Linked DNA regions of Homo sapiens: region 2 is linked to region 1. The links are contacts of gene promoters, found by promoter capture Hi-C in human tissues and cell types (Jung and others, 2019). All regions are on one chromosome and are shown on one strand. The core of a region is centred on a gene start or on the middle of the fragment in contact, and the rest is flanking DNA. Distances in the headings are between cores, read along the strand shown. Region 1 holds the start of PIGZ (phosphatidylinositol glycan anchor biosynthesis class Z (Gwada blood group)). Region 2 overlaps PAK2 (p21 (RAC1) activated kinase 2).

Region 1 (3,998 bases), core at 662-3,161:
AGGCTTTAGGATGAAGCGACAGGGCCCAGAGTCGTGGAGATTGGACTGGGGGGCAGGGGAGCAGGCATTGACAACCACGCCGACAGGGGCATCCCGCGCGCCTGTGTGGGAGAATGTGTAGGGCAAGCAGCAGGGAGAGACCATCTCAGAGACAGGGGAACAGCCAAGCAGAAACCACTGTGCTGGGCGCGGGGGGAGGCCGGGAAAGACAGCACATCTGCGGGGCGGGAGGAGGGGAGGGAAGGGAGTAGAAACACTGCTCCCGCCAGCCGCGGGTGATGGGGACACGTGTCCAGCTCGCTGAGTCCGAGGGCCTGGGCCCGCTTTGGGTGCCCTGTTTCTCCGGCGCCCAGGTGTGTGCGCAGAACCGTGTCTGCTCCAGGGACAGCCGTGAACGAGCGCCGTCCGGAGTGGCAGGGCCATCAGGTGTGGCTCATTCCAAGAAAGGTCCGTACCTTCACATGTAAACTTCCTGGCAAAGCTGCTGGGTTGCCGCTTATGGGAGAAGGCGGCGGGCCCAAGGTTCGGCCCCTTTGTCTGAATCTGGCATTTGGAGCAGGCTTTAAGACTTCGGGAAAAGCCGGGCCCCTGTGCAACCACCAAAGGCTGCTTCTCCCGCCCTCAGGACTAAGATCTTGTTCCAGTCCTCCAGTCCTCGGGGTCTACTCCAGGGGTACAAGGTGAGAGTGGCTCTCCAGAGTCCATTTGCCTTTTGGTGCCGCACTGCATCCTCACTTTGACCCTGAGCGCTGCAGTAAGCCCTGCAGGGTGCTCCACCTTGAAGCACGGGAAGATCTGATGCTGGCCGCCTTCTTCCTTCGGTTGCCTGAAAGGGCCCGTGTTTATCCTTCGCTTCACAGAGAACGCAACACACAACATTAAACACACATAGAGAGTGAAAGAGAACAAGGCATCTTCATCAAGGAGGGCGCACCATTTAACCACCCGCGACCTTGCAGTGCGCCTCTGCAAAGTGGGGACTCCGCTCTGTAGCAGGAGATGGGGGTGTTGACGATTTTGAAAGTAGTTCTCAGTTTTCCGAGGCAAAGGTGTCTGGGGCTGACGAATGACTTTTGAGAAGAAGGAATGATGAGAAATGTCCTCATTACAGAACTTTCCCGGCCACACTGTGAGTCCCACGCAAAGACCCCATGACCACCAACCGGAGCGCTGGGTGCTCCCTGGCAGGGTCACCTTTGCTTTTTGCGCGCCCCCATGCCACCCCTGGGGCAGGAGGCCATCCTCTTATCCTGGGAGTGCAGGCCTGGCCCGAAGTGCAGCCCCCGAGGCCGGGAGCCGAGATTCTTCTCGGCTTCGTGCTCAGAGCTTTGCAGCGTGGCATGGTTTCCTCCTCTTGCCCTGTTGCTGTTTCATACCAGGGGGAACTGAGACCCAGTCGGGTTATGGGCCTCCCTGAGAACACTGGCCTCTAGCAGAAGCAGATTCAACCCCAGGCCTCAACCTGCGCCCAGACCCGTGCCCTGGAGTGGAGTTTACCCACTGCCGCCCTTCCTGGGCAAATGTCACCGCTGCCTCCGTCCCCCTAGGTCCGGGGCGGGTCAGTGCTTCGAGCCAGCGGACCCCGGCCTAGGGACAGGTGCCTGCGAGAATGCGGGGGGCGGCCCCCAGCTCCCCTGCCCTCCTCCCTAGAGGCTGGGCCTGCTGGTCTCCCGGCTGCGCGCAAGGTGGGAACGCGGCCGACTTGGTCCGCTCGCCCTCCCCGCACCCGCTCCTCTGGAGCCGCTGGGGCTGCGCACCGACTCACCCGCGCGGCCTCCGGGCTGCGCCTTCAGCGCTGGCGGCGTCCTGCCCGGCGAGGGCCAGGGTCCCAGGAGGCCCCGGAGGCGGCGGGACCGCAGGGCGGAGGGGAGGCCGTGGGAGCGGCCGGGCGCGCCTCAGCAGCGCGGAGACTGGGGCCGCCGCCGCCGGCGCAGGGCGGGCCGGGAGGGAGGAGGAGCGCGCGGGCGGGGCCGCCGTGTACGTCCCCGCGCTCCCGCCCGGCCTGGCCCCGCGGTCCCGGAGCGAGCTGGGGCCGCGCTGGGGAGGGTCCTGGGGGCGCCGCCGTCCCTCGGGCCGGGCAACGCCGGGCGGGGACCGGTCTCGCCCCGCCGCGCTCGGGCTCCCTCCCCGGCGGCCCCTCCTCGGCGAACAGCCTTTCGGCGCGGGGGGCTGTTAAACCAGACACCCCAGGCCACACTCCTCTCGTTCGAAATGACCATTTCGGGGTTCTCCGTGGCGGGGAGCTCCGCCGCCGCCGTCCCCCTTCCACGCGCGGGAGGTCGGCGAGGGCAGGGCGGGGACCCGGAGTGCGGCCCCCGGTCCTGCTTCGTGGCCCGAAACGCCTCGCAATGGAGTCACTCATGACAGGGGACTCAGCGCACGGGGCGGCTGCTGAGCCCCGCAGCGATCGGCGGGCGTGAGGGGTTCCCCGGCGTGGTTGCCCGGGAGCCTGTCAGCCCCAGCAGCCCTGACAGGAAAGGGAAGTCGAGAGGAGGCTGAGCGAACGGCCGCCACCCCCGCGGGACGCTGACCCGGGCGGACCCCGAGGGGCCTCTCCCCGCGCCAGAGCGCGGCGTGCGCGGGGAAGCGCGACCCACCGGGGTCGGCGACGGCGCGCGGGGCGGGCGCGGCGGTTCCCTCTCCTCCGCCCGTGCCCGTGGGATCGGCGGGCTTGTCGGGCTGGGAGAGCCTCGTGGAACCCGGGCATCCGGGCAGCAGCGGCCTCCGAGCCACTGTGGAGGCGCCCGGGGTCGGCACGGCGAGGCCGACGGGGACCTGACACGGTCACGCGGCGCCGGGGAGCAGGTTCGAGTGGCCGGGCGTGGCCGTGCTGCCCCTCCGCGTTCCGCAGGCGGCGACGGGCGAGCGGCCCTAGCGGGCTGCAGGGAGGACGCCGCGTGGACGGAGAGCCGGCGCCCGGGGGCCAGATCCCCTCCCGGGACGGGGCGCCAGGTCCCCGCGAGCTGCGGCGCGACGCGCGGGCACCCGTGTCCCACCCGGTGGCCTCGCCGCTGCGGGCTGCGCTGAGAGCGGGGTGGCGCGACGCGGTCCCTCACCGCAGGGGGAAGACGGCACCACCGCGTCCCGGCCGCTGGAGCTTCCCGCCCGCGCCGCCGGCCCGACGCTGCCCCCTGGCGGGAGAGCGCTGCAGGGGCCCCGGCGAGGCCGCAGGACCCGACCTCCCCGCCGGCCTCGCACTCCCGCGCCGCCGCCGAGGGTCGGCAGCCGGATCGCCCTCCGTGCCCCATAGCACCCCTCACACTAAAAACGACGACTTTATTAAGATGTGAGGTATTCTATACATACGATAAATACCAGGAAATTTAAGTACAGTACATGGAAGTATACAGTTCCATGAATTTTTTCCTTTATTTTTTAGATACAGGGTCTCTGTCGCCCAGGCTGGAGTGCGGTGGCACGATCTCGGCTCACCGCAGCCTTGAACTTCTAGGCTCCAGCGATCCTCCTGCCTCAGCCTCCCGAGCAGCTGGGACCACAGGCCCCGCCACCATGCCCGGCTCAGTTCCATGACTTCTGACACGCGAAACCACCAGGCTAGTCTCCCCCCGAGTTCAAGAAGTCCTCTCCTCCCAAAAGTACCCTCCTGCCCCTCTGCAGCTAACCCCTCACCTCCCCTCCGCCCTGGTTCCAGACAACTGCTCCTCTGATTTCTGTCACTGCCCTTTGCCTCTCTCGCAATTGCATGCAAGGAGAACCATTCACCGTGTGGTCTTTTGTGCCTGGCTTTCTTCGCTTGGCACCATGCAGCTGAGCGTCGCCCGTGTGGCGTGTGTGTGTTGTATTTTCCTCTACCTTGGTCTTGAGACCTCCCTGGAGAGCCACTGTAAAGGCCAACTCTGCCCTGACAGGGCTCCTGGGATTTGGGCGTGGGTGTTTGCCGTGGGCCTTTCATGGGGCACCTCTGTATCCTGGCTGACCTGTGACCGGGTGTCCCTCTCCCAGGAGACATATTTATCCTGGCAGATCTCCTTGTGCTT
Region 2 (4,270 bases), core at 1,347-3,846, 150 kb before region 1:
ATTAATTACATAATCTGAAGTGAACTCTTCTGCTAAAACCATCCATGGAAGCCATTAACTCTGTTTTGTTTTGTTTTGTAGCTGACTTTGGTTTCTGTGCCCAGATCACCCCTGAGCAGAGCAAACGCAGTACCATGGTCGGAACGCCATACTGGATGGCACCAGAGGTGGTTACACGGAAAGCTTATGGCCCTAAAGTCGACATATGGTCTCTGGGTATCATGGCTATTGAGATGGTAGAAGGAGAGCCTCCATACCTCAATGAAAATCCCTTGAGGGTAAGATGAGTTAAACACCAGCCTTGTTCAATGTTTTTCTTTGAAACTCTTATTTAGAACTTGCACGTGCCTGGCACTGTCCAAGAATTTAAAGTAGAAGGTTGATAAAACCTAATCTCTGCCCCTAACTCTGCATCTAGAAATCATTTGCTCTCTGAGTTACAAATTAATGTGTTAGGTGAAGACTTTGTAGGTTTTTAGTAGTAAGCTGTATTGTTTTGTATTTTACGTAGGAAGTTTGGAGCACCTGTCTCTAAAGCTTCTCCTTCTTTTATTTTTTAAGATGTTTTGAGACAGGGTCCCACTCTCTTGCCTATTCTAGAATGCAGTGGCGCAATCTCAGCTCACTGCAACCGCCACCTCCCAGGTTCAAGCGATCCTCCTACTTCAGCCTCCTGAGTAGCTGGGACTATGGGTGCGTGCCACCACACCCAGCTGATTTTTGTACTTTTCATAGAGACGGGGTCTCTCCATGTTGGGTCAGGCTGGTCTCAAATTCTTGACCTCAGTTGATCCACTCGCCTCGGCTTCCCAAAGTGCTGGCATTACAGGTGTGAACAACTGCACCTGGCCACTTCTCTTTTTTTTAAATTACCATATGTGGCTCAACATTATCAGTTATTAAGGAAATGTAAATCAAAACCTCAACAATCAGAGGCTGAGGCAAGAGAATTGCTTGAACCCAGGAGGTGGCAGTTGCGGTGAGCCAAGATAGCACTACTGCACTCCAGCCTGGGCGACAGGGTGAGACTCTGTCTCAGCAAAAAACAACAAAAAACCCCACCACAACAGGATAACACTTCACAACTACTAGAATGGCTGTACTCAAAAAGACAATTAATAAATATTGGTGACCGGGTGCGGTGGCTTACACCTGTAGTCCCAGCACTTTGGGAGGCTGGGGTTGGAAGTTCAAGATCAGCCTGACCAACATGGAGAAACCCCATCTTTACTGAAAATACAAGATTAGCTGAGCATGGTGGTGGGTGCCTGTAATCCCAGCTACGTGGGAGGCTGAGGCAGGAGGATCACTTGAACCCAGGAGGCGGAGGTTGCAGTGAGCCGAGATCATGCCATCGCACTCCAGCCTGGTCGACAAAGCGAAACTCCGTCTCCATAAATAAATAAATAAATGTTGGTGAGAAGATAAGGAAACTAGAAATCTCGTTCATTGCAAAATATAAAATGGTACATCTGCTTTGGAAAACAACTTGACAATTCTGTGTGAAGTTAATACGGAATTACCAGATGACCTAGCGGTTCCTCTGCTGGGTACAGAGCCAAGAGAATTAAAATCATACATCCATACAGAAACCTTCATGCAGCCACAGAAGTGGAAATAATTCAAACCTGGTGAACAGTGGAATATTATTTGGTCATAGAAAGGAAGGAAGTGCCAATCCGTGTTACAGCATTGAACCTTGAGAGTACTGTGCTAAGTGAAAGAAGCCGAACAACAGATGGCAGCAGATTCTGACCGTCTGTTTCCTGAATGCTTTTCATCCAGTTGCCAAAGATTCCAGTTTATGTGGGCCGTTAAAGTACTTCTATAGAGGTGATTAGTTTAGACCACTTTTCAGAATGACATTAAAGCCCTCTAATGTTATTCATTCATTTAGCCAGTATTGGTTTGGGTACCTGCCATGCGCTGAGCACTATTCACAATGCTGTCTAAAAGAACCCACAAAAATTCCTGCTCTTACAGAACTTGTCTTCTAGTGGGAAAAGAGAAAAACAAAATAAATCAGAATAATGTGTCATACATTGAATAATGGACTCTTGAGTACTGAGACTGGCAGGAAGGAGGTTAGGGTGTTTACTTTCAAAAGGTGCTTAGAGAGCTGGGCACAGTGGCTCACGCCTGTCATCCCAGCATTTTGGGAGGCCAAGGTGGGAGGATTGCTTGAGCCTAGGAGTTCAAGGCCAGCCTAGGCAACATAGTGAGTCCCCATCTCTACAAAAAAATTTAAAAATTAGCCAAGCATGTTAGTGTGTGCCTGTAGTCACAGCTAATTGGAACCATCATCCTGCCCCAGTGCGTGGGTCACTTGGGCCCAAGGAAGATGAGGCTGCAGTGAGCTGTTATCACATCACTGCACTCCAGCTTGGGTGACGGCTAGGACCTGTCTCAAAAAAAATACAATAAAAATAAAATGTAAAATTAAATCAAAAGCGTGCATAGGGAGGGCTTCCCTGAGGTGACATTTGGACACAGGAAGTAAGAGCGTGATACTTACCTGAGGGAAAAGCATTCTAAGCAGAAGGCACAGCAAGTGCAAAAGCTCTAAAGCAGGAGCGTTCCTTGTGTATTGAGAGATGATTCTGGACCTCAGCACAGCTGGCGTACGCTGAGCAAACAGCGAGAGGTGCGGTCGATCGGCGAAGAAACCAGGCCAGACCGTAGTGCCTTATGAGAGCTCTGGAAGGATTCTGGCTTTTACTGGAGGCCAAATGGGGAAACTGTTAGAGAGATCTGAGCAGAGAAGCAAAGTGGTCTCCTTCAGTTTTAATAGGATTTCCCTGGCTGCGTTGTTGAGAGATCCCTGAGGAAGGCAAAGGCAGAGCAGAAGACCAGTCAAGAGGCTGATGTCATAATTCAGGCAAGCAGTGATGATGGCCTAGACCAGGGCAGTATCAGTGGAGGTGGGAAAAAGTGGTGTGAGTCTGGATGTATTTTGAAAGAAGAGTCTACATGAGAGAGAAAAGACTAACGGGATCTGTTCCCAAGTAACTCAACTGCATTCCTGTACAAAGCTGAAGAGTCTTACAGGGCTGCGTCTATAGCCAGGAGTACGCTCAGGCTTCAGAAGAGGCTCGCCTCCAGTGGCCTTCACTGTGGCAAAAAGGTCTACTTGAACCTCAGTGAGATCGGTAAAATCACCAGCGCCAAGCTCCTATCAGCAGATCCAGAAGCTGATCAAAGATGGGCTGATCATCTGCAAGCCTGTGACTATCCATTCCCAGGCTGGATCCCCGCAAACAAACAAACAAACAAACAAACAAAAAAAACACCTTGGGCCGGGCACGGTGGCTCATGCTTGTAATCTCAGCACTTTGGGAGGCCGAGGTGGGCAGATCACTTGAGGTCAGGAGTTCATGACCAGCCTAACATGATGAAACCTCGTCTCTACTAAAAATACAAAAATGAGCCAGGCATGGTGGCGTGCACCTGTATTCCCAGCTACTCGAGAGGCTGAGGTGGGAGAATTGCTTGAAACTGGGCGACAGGGAGAGATTCTGTCGCAAAAAAAAAAAAAAAGAAAAAAACACCTTGGCCCACAGGCATATGGGCATAACTGCTAATGCACACATTACCAAAAAGGCAGCCTGGATGAGGAAGATGAGAATTCCACCCCAGCTGCTCAGAAGACACTATGAATCTACCGAGATTGACCTTCACGTGTATCAGAGCCTGTACATGAAGTGAAGGGGGACGTGTTCAGAAACAAGCAGGTTCTTCGGAACTCATTCCAAGCTGAAGATAGACAAGGCCTCAAGAAGCTTCTCATTGACCAGGCCAGGGCACATGGCTCTAAGACCAGGAAAGCACTGTAGTTCCACGGAGAGTGCCTCTGGGCCAAGAGAAAATCATTAAGACTGTCCCAGGAGGAAGAAACTAAGAAATAAAGGTCTCCCTCTCTCGTCTGTACATAGTGGATCTTGGTGATTACATAGATCCAGTCATTCAAATACAACAAGATTTTATCTGCCTGATGGGGGGAAAAAGCATATTGGTAGGAATACAGAAATAGCCAGGACCCAGCAATCACCCAGACATCAGTCAAAGTTTACCAGACAGGCAAAGGAGCAGGCAGATGCAGCCCATAATGAGAAAAACTTCCAGGCAACTGGAACGGACAGAAGTTCATTAAAACAATCTCACGACTGCATTTCAGTTGTAAGAACTTTAAATGCATATTGCTTAGTGAAAGAATCCAGTCTAAAAAGGCTACATATTATTTCAACTGTAGAGAGTAAAAATGATTAGTGGT

Evidence for each region. Contacts are between HindIII fragments. The study calls those that stand out against the background at their distance.
Region 2: a contact is called between a fragment that was not itself captured here and the fragment with the promoter of PIGZ in region 1, in 2 of the 25 tissues and cell types used here (lymphoblastoid cells and spleen).

Annotation. Positions count from the first base shown.
Region 1 is chr3:196,966,922-196,970,919 of GRCh38, forward strand. It overlaps PIGZ (phosphatidylinositol glycan anchor biosynthesis class Z (Gwada blood group)), which reads right to left and starts at 1,912. Exons shown (of 3, transcript NM_025163.4): 1 at 1,766-1,912. LOC124906255 (collagen alpha-1(I) chain-like) reads left to right here and starts at 2,212. Exons shown (of 3, transcript XM_047449439.1): 1 at 2,212-2,328; 2 at 2,475-3,291; 3 at 3,380-3,998. The coding sequence starts at 2,212. The coding sequence ends at 3,290. RefSeq lists enhancers at 1,489-2,024, 2,025-2,560, 2,561-3,096 and silencers at 1,632-2,081, 2,142-2,351, 2,362-2,421, 2,532-2,591, 2,702-3,021 and 1 more. The HindIII fragment of the contact is 30,202 bases long and covers 1-3,998 here.
Region 2 is chr3:196,820,290-196,824,559 of GRCh38, forward strand. PAK2 (p21 (RAC1) activated kinase 2) reads left to right here. Exons shown (of 15, transcript NM_002577.4): 13 at 82-278. Among named protein-coding and RNA genes, the nearest start is that of SENP5, 45 kb to the right of the region's middle. The HindIII fragment of the contact is 5,691 bases long and covers 1-4,270 here.